3 separate regions of the Homo sapiens genome follow, and all the other regions are linked to region 2. The links are contacts of gene promoters, found by promoter capture Hi-C in blood cells and fetal thymus (Javierre and others, 2016). All regions are on one chromosome and are shown on one strand. Each heading gives the region's core, a stretch centred on a gene start or on the middle of the fragment in contact. The rest is flanking DNA. Distances are from core to core; before and after follow the strand shown. Region 1 overlaps NEBL (nebulette). Region 2 holds the start of PLXDC2 (plexin domain containing 2). Region 3 has its middle 28 kb from the start of ARL5B.

Region 1 (4,217 bases), core at 828-3,327, 1.0 Mb after region 2:
GTGTGGCAACGGAAAGCTAGCGCTAGGACATGCGGAAAAAGGTAAAGTGGGGAAAAATAAAAGCAATTTGTCTTGCTCTTATCTTATGACAGGAATATGTTTAATACTGTTCAAAAGAAGAGAAGGAAAGAAAAGCAAAAAGAACAGAGGAAAAGAAACCCAGAGGCAAGGAATAAAAAAGTCCTATACAAAAAGACTCCACCACAAAGAAGATTGAGAGGCACAAGGAAAATGTAAGAGAAATAAGCAACTATTGTTCCTAAAAGGAAAGGGTAAAAGGTGCCTGAAAGAGAAATTGAGAAATCTGGGAACAGTCAGTTGAGTTTTTAAGGTGAAAAAATTGGATGAAGGCTACTATTTGGACATATAGACAAAAAGTTGAATTTGGAAGACACCAAATTGAACAGGGATGCCAAGTTTGGCCACTGAAAGAAGCTAAATGTAACAGGCAGCAATATGACAAAAATTGTTTCATTAGCAACCTAAGTGTCCATCAACAGATGAATGAATAAAGAAAATGTGGCACATATACACAACGGAATACTATACAGCCACAAAAATGAACGAGATCCTGCCATTTGCAACAACATGGATGGAACTGGAGGTCATTATGTTAAGTGAAATAAGCCAGGCACAGAACAACAGATTTCACATGTTCTCACTCATATGTGGGAGCTAAAATAGTGAGACCCCAGTTCTACAAAAAATAAAGAAATCAGCTGGGCATGGTGACATGCACCTATAGCCCCAGCTACTCGGGAGGCTGAACTTATGAAGACAGAGTAGAATGATGGCTACCAGCAGCTGGGAAGAGTGGTGGGGAGAGGAGATAAAGTGGAGATGGTTAAGGAGTGCAAAAATACCGTTAGAGAGAATGAGTTTAAGATCTAGTATTCAATGCCACAATAGGGTGACCATAGTTAACAATAATTTATTGTACATTTTAAAATAACTAAGAGTGGAATTGAAATGTTCCTAACAGAAAGAAACGACAAATGCTTGAACTGATGGATACCTCAATTATCCTAATTTGATCAATACACACTGTATGCCTGTATCAAAACATTACATTTACCCCATAAATATATACAACCATTATGTATCAATAACAATTATAAATTAGAAAATTTTAAAAATAATTATTTCATGATTTCTATCATTGGAGATTGGACACTTTGTTATTTTGCCTTATTTGGAAAAGACCTTTAGTAGTAAATGGTAGCTCTTAAAGACTCAAGGCTACAGAGACTTAAGAAGCTAAAGATAGCTGCTTATTAGACAATGGGGTACCAGTAAAAATGGCAATAGAGTGGAGGGATCCAAAAACAGTATTTGAAAGGGAGCGGGAAAGAGCTGGCCATAAGGAAATTTGCATTTTGATCTTAGGGGATACTCCAGGGATTTCAGAGTGAAAGAGGAAGAAAGCTCAGTGCTAGGAATGGAACAGATGACCAAGTGGCCTGCCACAAGAGAGCTACCCTTTCTAGTGGGACAAAGCAATAGTCCCCAGAGGGAGCCTGGCCTCAGGTGCTTCCACTCAATTAGGGAGCTGCAATATATGTTCCCCCAAACCTAACCAGAATAAAATCAGGGAGGAAAGCACCCCCCAGGAAGGACATGAAAATGTTCATATAGTACTTTTTTTTTTTTTTTTTTTTTTGGACAGGGTCTTGCTCTGTCACCCAGGCTGGAGTGCAGTGGAGGGATCATGGCTCACTGCAGCCTTGACCTCCTGGGCTCAAGCAATCTTCCCATCTTAGCCTCCCAAGTAGCTGGGGCTATAGGTGCATGTCACCATGCCTAGCTAATTTCTTTATTTTTTGTGGAGCTAGGGTCCCACTACGCTGCCCACGCTGGTCTCAAACTCCTGGCCTCAAGCCATCCTCCTGCCTTGGCCTCCCAAAATGCTGGAATTACAGACAGGAGCTACTGCACCTAGCCCACAGAGTACATCGTGATGGAAGGAAACAAGTTATAAATTTTGGCTCCTCTAATGTTTTTTTAAAAAAGCCTTTTTTTGGCTAGGCGCGGTGGCTCACACCTGTAATCCCAGCACTCTGGGAGGCAGAGACAGGCGGATCATGAGGTCAAGAGATCTAGACCATCCCTGGCCAACATGGTCAAACTCTATCTCTACTACAAATACGAAATTAGCTGGGAGTGGTGGGGTGCACCTAGTAGTAGTAGTCCCAGCTACTCAGGAGGCTGAGGCAGGAGAATCGCTTGAACCTGGGAGCGGAGGTTGCAGTGAGCTGAGATCGTGCCACTGCACTCCATCCTGGAGACAGAGCGAGAGTCCGTCTTAAAAAAAAAAAAAAAGTGTTTTTTTTTTAACCAGTTAAAATCTGGAAAGAAAGATAATAATACAGACTTTATAATTTGATTAGAAGTTATCTTGTAATATGTATTTATAAAATAATCATGAATGTAACAAGCTACAACATAGTCCATTACTGAGTTAAAATCCACAACAAATACATATAAATATATGTAAAATAATGAATATATACTGAAAAATTCAGTAAATATTGTTCCCAACACAATTATCGATTTTAGTTACAAAGAATTTCAGAAACTCCTATTTAAGAAAACAAAACAAAACAAAAAAAAAACGAAGGAAAACTTAATTGAATTAAGATCTGCAAAAGAACTTCGAATGCGTGTCTTTCCTTATATAACAGTCTCTGCTACCTCCTAGTGGGAGATACACGGAGTAACACAAAATATATATTTCTTAATTTATGTAAAGTTGTGAAAGAAACTCAACACTACCAGAGGTCCATTTTCCAGGGGAAAATGTTTTCCAAAACTTTAATTAGAATGATTTTACACAGTAATTAAGGCACTCATATCACTCTTTAGAGTTTGGGTTAAAATAAAAGTAACTCTGATGTTGCTAAAGACATCTAGGGGTCTTTAAAACAATAGCTACTGTGACAAATGGATAATTTTGGCAGAATATCTCTTATTGAGCAATCTTATTCAATCTTTTAATTTATAAATCAACACAACTCCAATTTTTTACATTAAAATGTTAAAGTAGGCTATTCTTTGTTTCTTCACAAATGCTAGATAAAGGAGGCCATTCTAATATACAATAAAGTTGAGCAAATGTATACAGCTTTATACAATGTACACAACTTTGTAAGGAGACACTTCAAAAGGAACACATTTTTAAGTCTTTCTCTCCCAGGAAGTAGTCAATCACAATTTGTCTATGGGGAAAAAGAAATCTGTCCTCTAGGCAAAAGCACCACCTAAATGAAGATCTAAACTTTATATATGATACATGAAATAAGTAACGTATGACTTTGCTGTGTTTTCTCTGTTGAAGAGATGATAGAAACAATTTATATTAGACTGCGATTTTTTTCTCTGTTATTATAAAATAAAGGTCAACGTTCTTGAAAAGCAATATTGCATAGGAGTGGCACGCTTTCTTCCAGCCACCAAATGTTGAAATTACCACCATGATATTTTTATTGGCTTATTTACACATGAATCCCCATGTCCCTAGGAAATTGAATTTAAGTATGGCTAGAGAAAGGTCAAGGGCAAATGCCACTGCCATGATGAAAACTGGATGCCAAAGAATGAATGTGAAGAAAGCAGGGGGCTCAGGGAATAGAAATATATCAATTTTAGAAGCATATCTATGAGTCGTGGAGAAAAAAGACAGAAATAGAGACACTCAAGGAATAGAGGAATGTAAAAAGAGGTGTGGGAATGAAGACTGAAGTGCAAGCCAGCATGATGTAAGTGTCCTGGAACTGACTGCCAATTCTGGGCCCTCCAGATATTCCTCTAACCTCCATTCCCTGTTCAATAGCCTGGGAACATTAATGTACTGCTTTTCATCCAAGGACCAATGATTAAAAAAATAAATAAATTTATTTTTATTTTATTTTATTCTATGTATTTATTTATTTTTTAGACAGAGTCTCACTCTTGCCTAGGCTGGAGCACATTGGTGCCATCTCAGCTCACAGCAACCTCCCAAGTTTAAATGATTCTCCTGCCTCAGTCTCCTGAGTAGCTGGGATTATAGATGCCCACCACCACGCCTAGCTAATTTTTGTATTTTTAGTAGAGACGAGGTTTCACCATGTTGGCCAGGCTAGCCTTGAACTTCTGACCTCAGGTGATCCACCCGCCTCCCACAGTGCTGGGATTACAGGCATGAAACACCATGCCCAGCCAGAAAAAAATAAACTTTT
Region 2 (4,040 bases), core at 907-3,406:
AATATAAAAACAGTTGATTAACACATATTTGGTATGTTCTACATATTACATACTGTATTCTTAAAATAAAGTAAGCTAGAGAAAAGAAAATGTTAAGAAAATCATAAGGAAGATAAATATACTTACTGTTTATTAAGTGGAAGTGGATCATCAGAAAGGCTTTCATCCTCATCGTCTTCACATTGAGTGGGCTGAAGCGGAGGAAGAGGAGGGGTTAGTCTTGCTCTGTTAGGGGTGGCAGAGGAGGAAGAAAATCCATGCAAAAGCGGATCCTCGCAGTTCAAACCCCTGTTGTTCAAGGGTCAACCGCACAATCAGGTTTTGATGAGAAGACTCAGTTTTCAAACTTGATTTTAAGCAGGTATATATCCGGGTACTCAAATTCGGATGTAATATTACATAGAACTTAAACACTCCTAGTTAAGCAGAAATAGAAAAACCCAGTTACCTAAGTAGAAATCAACCTATGGGAGGAAAGCTCAGGAAAGAGCCAGGGTCCTGGCATAATAAAGAGTATAGGCATGATATATGTTTGTGTTTATACGTGTATATCTGTTGTTTGGAAATAAAGAGCAAATTGAGTATTGGATTAAGGGAAACCTTTCTTGTTTCCCATGAGAGAGCCGTCCTTTGAGCATCACATTTGCAAAGGTAGATTGATTATCCGGATCCACTTCCAGTGGGTTTTGTGGCAAGCCGAGACATCTATTGACAGCATCCATAGACTCTTCAGAGCTTGGAGTGGAAAGGACCTTGAACTTAGAACACATGCACATTTATTATGTGATTGAAGTCGTCTTCTCTCACTTTTGCTTCAGTAAACACTTAAACAAAGCCATGTACTTTGCGGTAGGCAATGTTCTATATTTATTAAATATACAGTTAACTCATCCAATCCATTGCAACCACCTTATAAGGGCGTTACTCTAATTCTCTCCATTTGATGGATGGATAACTGAGGCTAGGAGATAAACTGCTCATTGCGGGGGAGGTGAAATTCCAGCCCAGGCTGTCCGGGCTCTAGATCCTGTACTTTTAACCAATAGCGCTTTGCTTCTTTTCCTTGTATTTATCCCTTTCAAAAATGATTAACTGTATGCAAAATAAGATATCAACTAACGAGAGGGCCGGCAAGGGTTAACGCGGAAACAGATCCCCGAGCTGAAAAAACAAAAACAAACTGGGGAGCCAGAGCCCCTGAAAGCTCCGGTAGGAAATTCAATGGGCCTCCTGTTCCTTTAAACTCTCGCTTTCGCCCCCGCTGACACTTTGCAAAGCCGCGGCGGCAGCGGCGGGGACCACGCTGCGGTGCACCACCTTCCGCCACCCTCCCGCGCTGGGCTGGGGTCGAGGGGGCTTCGCAGAGTCGGTAACCGAACCGGCTCTGGTTTGCTTTCTCCACTCCCTAGCCACTACCAGAACCAGCCTCCGCGAAGGGGCGAGCTGTGGTTAACCCTTTCGTGCCCAGGGAGACCCCGCCAGGGTCGGGGCGGGGCGCGATCGCCCCCCGCAGTCGGGCGCGAAGGCGGCCCGGGAGCCAGGTGGGTGTGGGGCGCAGTTGGCGGAGCTGCCCAGGGCGTGCGAGCAGGCTGCGAGGATGGCGCCCCGGCGGCGCGGAGGTACCGCCCCGCGCTCCCCCGATAGCTCCCCGGCCTGTCCCCTCTCCCCGCGCTCTGGGGCAGCCGGCTGCCTGGGGCGCACGGGGCTGGAGTGGCCCTCTCCCTCCCCTTCGCTAGGCTCCCCCGGCTTAATCTGTTGGCCGCGACTCCTCAGCCAGCCCCGAGGAAAGTGCAGCCATTGGACAGGTCTGTGCGGGCTGCCGGTTTCAGGGAGGAAGGTGGGAGAAGCCTGGAGGAGCGAAGGGGAGGGCGGAGGGAGGAGGGAGGAGGGTGCGGCGGCAGATCTGGCAAATTGCGAGCTGCCTTCCCTCCTCAAAGTGTGGAGAAGGAGCGCGGGGGAGCGTGGCGACGGCAGCGCCTCCTCCGCCACCAAACTCCTGGGGCTCCGCGGGGGCTTGGGGCCACCTCCTCCTGAGCCCGGAGGAACCCTCTCCCGATAGGTTCCAGCGTGACTCCCTCCCACTCCACCCTTTTCCTTTCTTCTTCCTCTTTTTTTTTTTTTTTTTTAAACACATTTTTTTCCTGGCTTCGGACCTCAGACTGCTGCAGCCCTAACCTTCCCAGGGCTCAGCTCTTTGGAGCTGCCCATTCCTCCGGCTGCGAGAAAGGACGCGCGCCCTGCGTCGGGCGAAGAAAAGAAGCAAAACTTGTCGGGAGGGTTTCGTCATCAACCTCCTTCCCGCAAACCTAAACCTCCTGCCGGGGCCATCCCTAGACAGAGGAAAGTTCCTGCAGAGCCGACCAGCCCTAGTGGATCTGGGGCAGGCAGCGGCGCTGGCTGTGGAATTAGATCTGTTTTGAACCCAGTGGAGCGCATCGCTGGGGCTCGGAAGTCACCGTCCGCGGGCACCGGGTTGGCGCTGCCCGAGTGGAACCGACAGTTTGCGAGCCTCGGCTGCAAGTGGCCTCTCCTCCCCGCGGTTGTTGTTCAGTGTCGGGTGAGGGCTGCGAGTGTGGCAAGTTGCAAAGAGAGCCTCAGAGGTCCGAAGAGCGCTGCGCTCCTACTCGCGTTCGCTTCTTCCTCTTCTCGGTTCCCTACTGTGAAATCGCAGCGACATTTACAAAGGCCTCCGGGTCCTACCGAGACCGATCCGCAGCGTTTGGCCCGGTCGTGCCTATTGCATCGGGAGCCCCCGAGCACCGGCGAAGGACTGGCGGGTGGGGTAGGGAGGTGGCGGCGGCGGCATGGCGAGGTTCCCGAAGGCCGACCTGGCCGCTGCAGGAGTTATGTTACTTTGCCACTTCTTCACGGACCAGTTTCAGTTCGCCGATGGGAAACCCGGAGACCAAATCCTTGGTAAGTAAGATGCACTTTAGCTTGCTGATTTTGTGCGCAGCTGAAGACCTCTCTGGCACTCTCGTGCTCCCTACCCTCTCCCCCCAACATCACCTATCTGCCCTTGGGAAACTTATTGCAGTTGCTTTTCGGCTAAACTTAGGCTTCCCAAATGGGGAAAGAGGGTTATCAAGAGAAGGACGCCGGGGACTAGGGGTTTTCTTGAGGCTTTCGGGCTTACTTCACCTGGGCGGCAGGGGGTGGTACTGTCTCCCCAAAGTAGCCCAGGGAGGGCTTCAGTGTGAGAGCAAAGCTTCTTCCGTGGATACATCTCCTAGGACCTGGCATCTCCAGGCTGTGTGCTCTCCGGCTCCTCCTCCTTCCTCGCTGCTGGTTAAACTAAGCGTGTGTGGTATGGGGTGGGTGGGGGACGTTGTGAAAGCCAGGGATTGCAGGTCTCCCCTCTGCACGAGAAAATTCCCTGTGGCAGCACCTTCCTTCCCCTGGCGATCCCCACTAGCTCCGTCTAGTGACCTGGGCCAAGCGGGCGCTGGAAGGGGGGCGGGGTAAATGCGGCCGGCGCAGAGGTGGGGAGCAGGTGGGAAAGGTGGAGGCGGGCTCGCCTCTGGAGACCTACCCCTGCTCCCATTGTCCTCCGCCTGCCAGCTTCACAGACAGGCCTGAACGCGCAGAGAGTTCCTTGGAGTGCCCTGATTTTGTCCCCGAGAGGGCCCCCAACCTCCGCATCCTCTTAGTGGCTGTCCTGGCAGGTGCGCGTCCTGCGGGGAGTTGCGCCCCGGGGGCTATCGCCGAGCGGGAGCTGCCTCCTGGAACCCTGCCCACCGCGAACTGGGTGCCTACTCCCCATTTCTGCCTTTCAGTGAAGAAAGTGAAGACACAGGCAGAAAGAGATCTTGGCAGAAATTGGTGAACTAGGGTGGACTTCGAGAGGAGGTGAAACGAGAGAAAAAGAAAAAAGAAAAAACTTGGAGGGAAAAGAAAAGAAAACGAAAACTTTCTCCCTAGGATAATCAATTTGTCAATTTGTTCTTTTCTGGTGTGTGTGTGTGTGTGTGTGTGTGTGTGTGTGTGTGTGTGTGTGTAATTTAAATGATTGCCCGGAAAGTATGCATGCGTCCTCAACA
Region 3 (3,947 bases), core at 873-3,372, 1.1 Mb before region 2:
ATTCAAACCGTATTTTTGCTCATAGAGACTAACCCTTAGAGTGATTCTCAAACAATGATGTCAGCATCAACTAGGAACTTGTTAGAAATGCAGATTTTCAGACTCCATCCCAGACTTTTTATATTAGAAACTCTCAAGGTAAGGGCCCAGAAATCTAGTTCAACAAGCCCTTCAGATGATTCCAATGGAAGTTAAAGTTTGAGAACCACTGCCTTATAAACCCAACTCTTCCTTGCTTTGGAAGGAATATCTGTTTTACATATTCACTGGTGGCCTTTTGCTTTAACAAAGTGAGACCATTATTATTTCTGGAGGAAAAGTGAAGAGATGGACCGAACACACTGTGCAGGGAGAAAGCTGGTGGAGGGGACAGGGTGGTGCTCATCAGTCATAGGGAAGAACCCTGAGAGAGGAAAATAAGGGTTCCTCAGCTGAACATATATTGGGAATTCAGATAGAATACACTAACATTAGCCATAGCAACCCAAGCTTGCTGGACTTAAAGTAGGAAAAAGAGCCTGGCAAACTCCAATCTGAGAGCCTGGAAAATGGCAATATCCAGCTTTATTTTATTTTATTTTTTTAGACAGAGTGTCACTCTGTCGCCCAGGCTGGAGTGCAGTGGCGCGATCTCTGCTCATTGCAACCTCCGCCTCCTGGGTTCCAGCAATTCCCCTGCCTCAGCTCCCGAGTAGCTGGAATTACAGGCATGTGCCACCACGCCTGGCTAATTTTTGTATTTTTCAGTAGAGGTGGGTTTTCACCATGTTGGCCAGGCTGGTCTCAAACTCCCGACCTCAAGTGATCCGCCCACCTCGGCCTTCCAAAGTGCTGAGATTACAGGCATGAGCCACTGCACCTGGCCCTATCCAGCTTTTAAGGTTACTTTATCTCCAGGCTAGTGGTGAGAGTTAATGAGACACAAACCCCACCCAACAAATGGGGTGACTGGGAATATCCTGAGAGTGAATAAAAGCCTTTTATATCCTTAGCAAGCAGGTTTGGGAGAATGCAGAATCAAACAGTTGCCAGGGATACCCCTTTCCTTTTTTAAAAAACAGACTTTACTCTTATTTTGTTAAATTTTTATTTTATTTATTTATTTATTGACGTGAGTTTTCACTTTTGTTGCCCAGGCTGGAGTGCAATGGTGCGATCTTGAATCAGTGCAACCTCCACCTCCTGGGTTCAAGCGATTCTCCTGCCTCAGCCTCCCGAGTAGCTGGGATTACAGGCACTCGCCATCATGCCCGGCTAATTTTTGTATTTTTAGTAGAGATGGGATTTGACCATGTTGGCCAGGCTGGTCTCGAACTCCTGACCTCATGATCTGCCCACCTCGGCCTTCCAAAGTGCTGGGATTACAGGTGTGAGCCACCACGCCTGGACTAAAATAGGCTTTATCCTTTCGATTCACAGAAACATTGAGGAGAAAGTATAAAGAGTTCCCATATACCATCTGCCATTCCCTCCCACCCCCACACAGCCTCCCTTACTGTCAACATCCTGTACCACAGCGGTACATTTGTTATGACTGAAGAACCTACAGGGCACGTCATCGTCACCCAAAGTCCATAGGGTTTACTCTTGGTATTGTAGATTCTATGGGGTTTGACGCATGCATAATAACATGCACTCACCATTATAATATCATACAGAATACTTTCAGTGTTCTAAAATCCCTCTGCTTTGCCTGTTCCTCCTTCCCTTCCACCTAACCCCTGACAGCCACTGATCTTTTTGCTGTCTGTATAATTTTGCCTTTTGGAGAATGTCATATAGTTAGAATCATACAGTATGTAGCCTTTTCAGATTCGCTTTTTTCATGGTAATATGCATTTAAACTTCCCGCGTGTCTTCTCATTGCTTGACAGCTCATTTTTTTTTCTTTCCCCAAATTAACTTTTCATTTTATTTGCGAGTTTTTAACGTGAAGGGTAATACAGGTACAGGAAAGTGCACATTCCAGAAGTGGACAGTTCAGGAATTTTCACAAATTGAAACTATGCATGTCAGCAGTACACTGATCAAGAAAGAGAACAGGAGAACAAGCCAGATGGCTTGTGCAGCAACCTGGTGGCTCATGCCTGCAATCCCAGCACTTTGGGAGGCCGAAGTGGGAGGGACTGCCTGATCCCAGGAGTTTGAGACCAGCCTGGGCAACATAGTAAGACTCCATCTCTACAAGAAATAAACAAATAAAACAATACCTGGCTAATTTTTGTGTATGTTTAGTAGAGACGGGGTTTCACTGTGTTGGCCAGACTGGTCTCAAACTCCTAACCTCAGGTGATCCGCCCACCTCGGCCTCCCAAAATGGGATTACAGGCATTGAGTCACCACCGCCGGCTGACATAGATTATTCTTAATGTTCCTTTCTGTTATGAAGTCGTTCCTGATTTTAAAAAAATCATATATGTAATATGCTCTGAAAATCAAATACAATGTACCTGTAACAGATATATTGCAGTTTATAATACTGTTTAACAGTAGGTATATATTAGCTAAGAAAATTTTAAAATCTGGGCCAGGTGCGGTGGCTTACATCTGTAATCCCAGAACTTTGGGAGGCTGAGGGGGCGGATCACCTGAGGTCAAGAGTTTGAGATCTACCTGGCCAACATGGTGAAACCCCGTCTCTACTAAAAATACAAAAATTAGCCAGAGCATGGTGGTGAGTGCCTGTAGTCCCAGCTACTTGGGACACTGAGGCAGGAGAATTGCTTGAACCTGGGAGGAGGAGGTTGCAGTGAGCCAAGATTGCACCACTGCACTTCAGCATGGGCAGCAGAGCCAGAAACCATCAAAAAAAAAAAAAAAAAGAAAAAAGAAAAAAATGTTAATATGGTATTAGAAAACTACAATGTAAACAATCACAAAAGATAGTTTAAGCTGAAGCATTAGCAATAAAATATGTAATCAGTAAATGAGAGGCTTTGGGGTTTGTTTTCCTTCTCATCCTCTCTCTCTCCTCTTCCTCCTCTTTCTTATTTTCTTCTTCCTCATTTTTCTCTCTCCTCTTCCTTTCTTCCCTCTTGCTTCTCCTCTTCTTCCCACTGCCTTCTTCTTCCTCCTTTTCCTTCTCATCATTCTCTTTCTCTCTCCTGCCTTCTCCTTTTTTCCATTCTCTAGTCCTGACAGTCAGTAAACCCATGTCACGGTAAGTTAAGGGATGTATTTCTTGTTCTTCTTGACCTTGTTCAGAGTCTCACTCTGTCACCCAGGCTGGAGTGCAGTGGTGCAATCTAGGTTCACTGCAACCTCGGCCTCCCGGGTTCAAGTAATTCTCCTGCCTCAGACTCATAAGTAGCTAGGTTTACAGGCACGTGCCACCACACCCAGCTAATTTTTGTATTTTTGGTAGAGGTGGGGTTTTACCATGTTGTCCAGGCTGGTCTCGAACTCCTGACCTCAAGTGATCTGCCTACCTCGGCCTTCCAAAGTGCTGGGATTACAGGTGTGAGCCACCGCACCCAGCTGACCTTGTTCTTCTTGATCTTCTTGTTCTTCTCCTTCTCTCTCTCTCTTTTTTTTTTGTTTGTCATTTAATAAAGAACTCCAGAGGAGTTTAAATATGAATATAACTTAAATGTGACTCAGAAGAGGAAGACAGGTGAATGCTGTTTTTTAAAAAGTGCTTTTTGAAATATTATTTTCTTCTCTTTGATAAAACCTGATATGGTGGCATAGAAAAAAATACCCAGCCTCTCACAACTCCTCCCCTCTCTTTTTAAACAGAATATTTCTTCTAACTTTAAGCTTCAGGGGCCATCAAGAGGTAAATTAGTTTTCTAGACAGTGTGTTTCCTCTAGATGGCAGAATAGGATTTTATTTTGCACTGTTGAATCCTCTTCGCTATTATTTGAACGTTTCTTATTACAGAAGTTTTAAAGTTATTTGGTAACTGAATACATATTTAAAATTTTCTTTGTGCAGATAACACCTC

Evidence for each region. Contacts are between HindIII fragments. The CHiCAGO score rates a contact against its expected background, and 5 or more counts as called.
Region 1: a contact is called between a fragment that was not itself captured here and the fragment with the promoter of PLXDC2 in region 2, in 1 of 17 cell types (M2 macrophages). The highest score is 5.8, in M2 macrophages.
Region 3: a fragment that was not itself captured here is called in contact with the fragment with the promoter of PLXDC2 in region 2 in 1 of 17 cell types (megakaryocytes); the score reaches 5.1 in megakaryocytes.

What each region holds. Positions count from the first base shown.
Region 1 is chr10:20,852,924-20,857,140 of GRCh38, forward strand. All of the region lies in intron 9 of NEBL (nebulette), which reads right to left. All of the region lies in intron 2 of LOC102725112 (a long non-coding RNA gene), which reads left to right. Among named protein-coding and RNA genes, the nearest start is that of NEBL, 42 kb to the right of the region's middle. The HindIII fragment of the contact is 9,153 bases long and covers 1-4,217 here.
Region 2 is chr10:19,814,276-19,818,315 of GRCh38, forward strand. PLXDC2 (plexin domain containing 2) reads left to right here and starts at 2,157. Exons shown (of 14, transcript NM_032812.9): 1 at 2,157-2,916. The coding sequence starts at 2,805. It overlaps LOC124902388 (a long non-coding RNA gene), which reads right to left and starts at 1,953. Exons shown (of 2, transcript XR_007062078.1): 1 at 127-1,953. RefSeq lists an enhancer at 1,081-1,846. The HindIII fragment of the contact is 8,470 bases long and covers 1-3,206 here.
Region 3 is chr10:18,685,880-18,689,826 of GRCh38, forward strand. No RefSeq gene overlaps it. Among named protein-coding and RNA genes, the nearest start is that of ARL5B, 28 kb to the left of the region's middle. The HindIII fragment of the contact is 3,270 bases long and covers 488-3,757 here.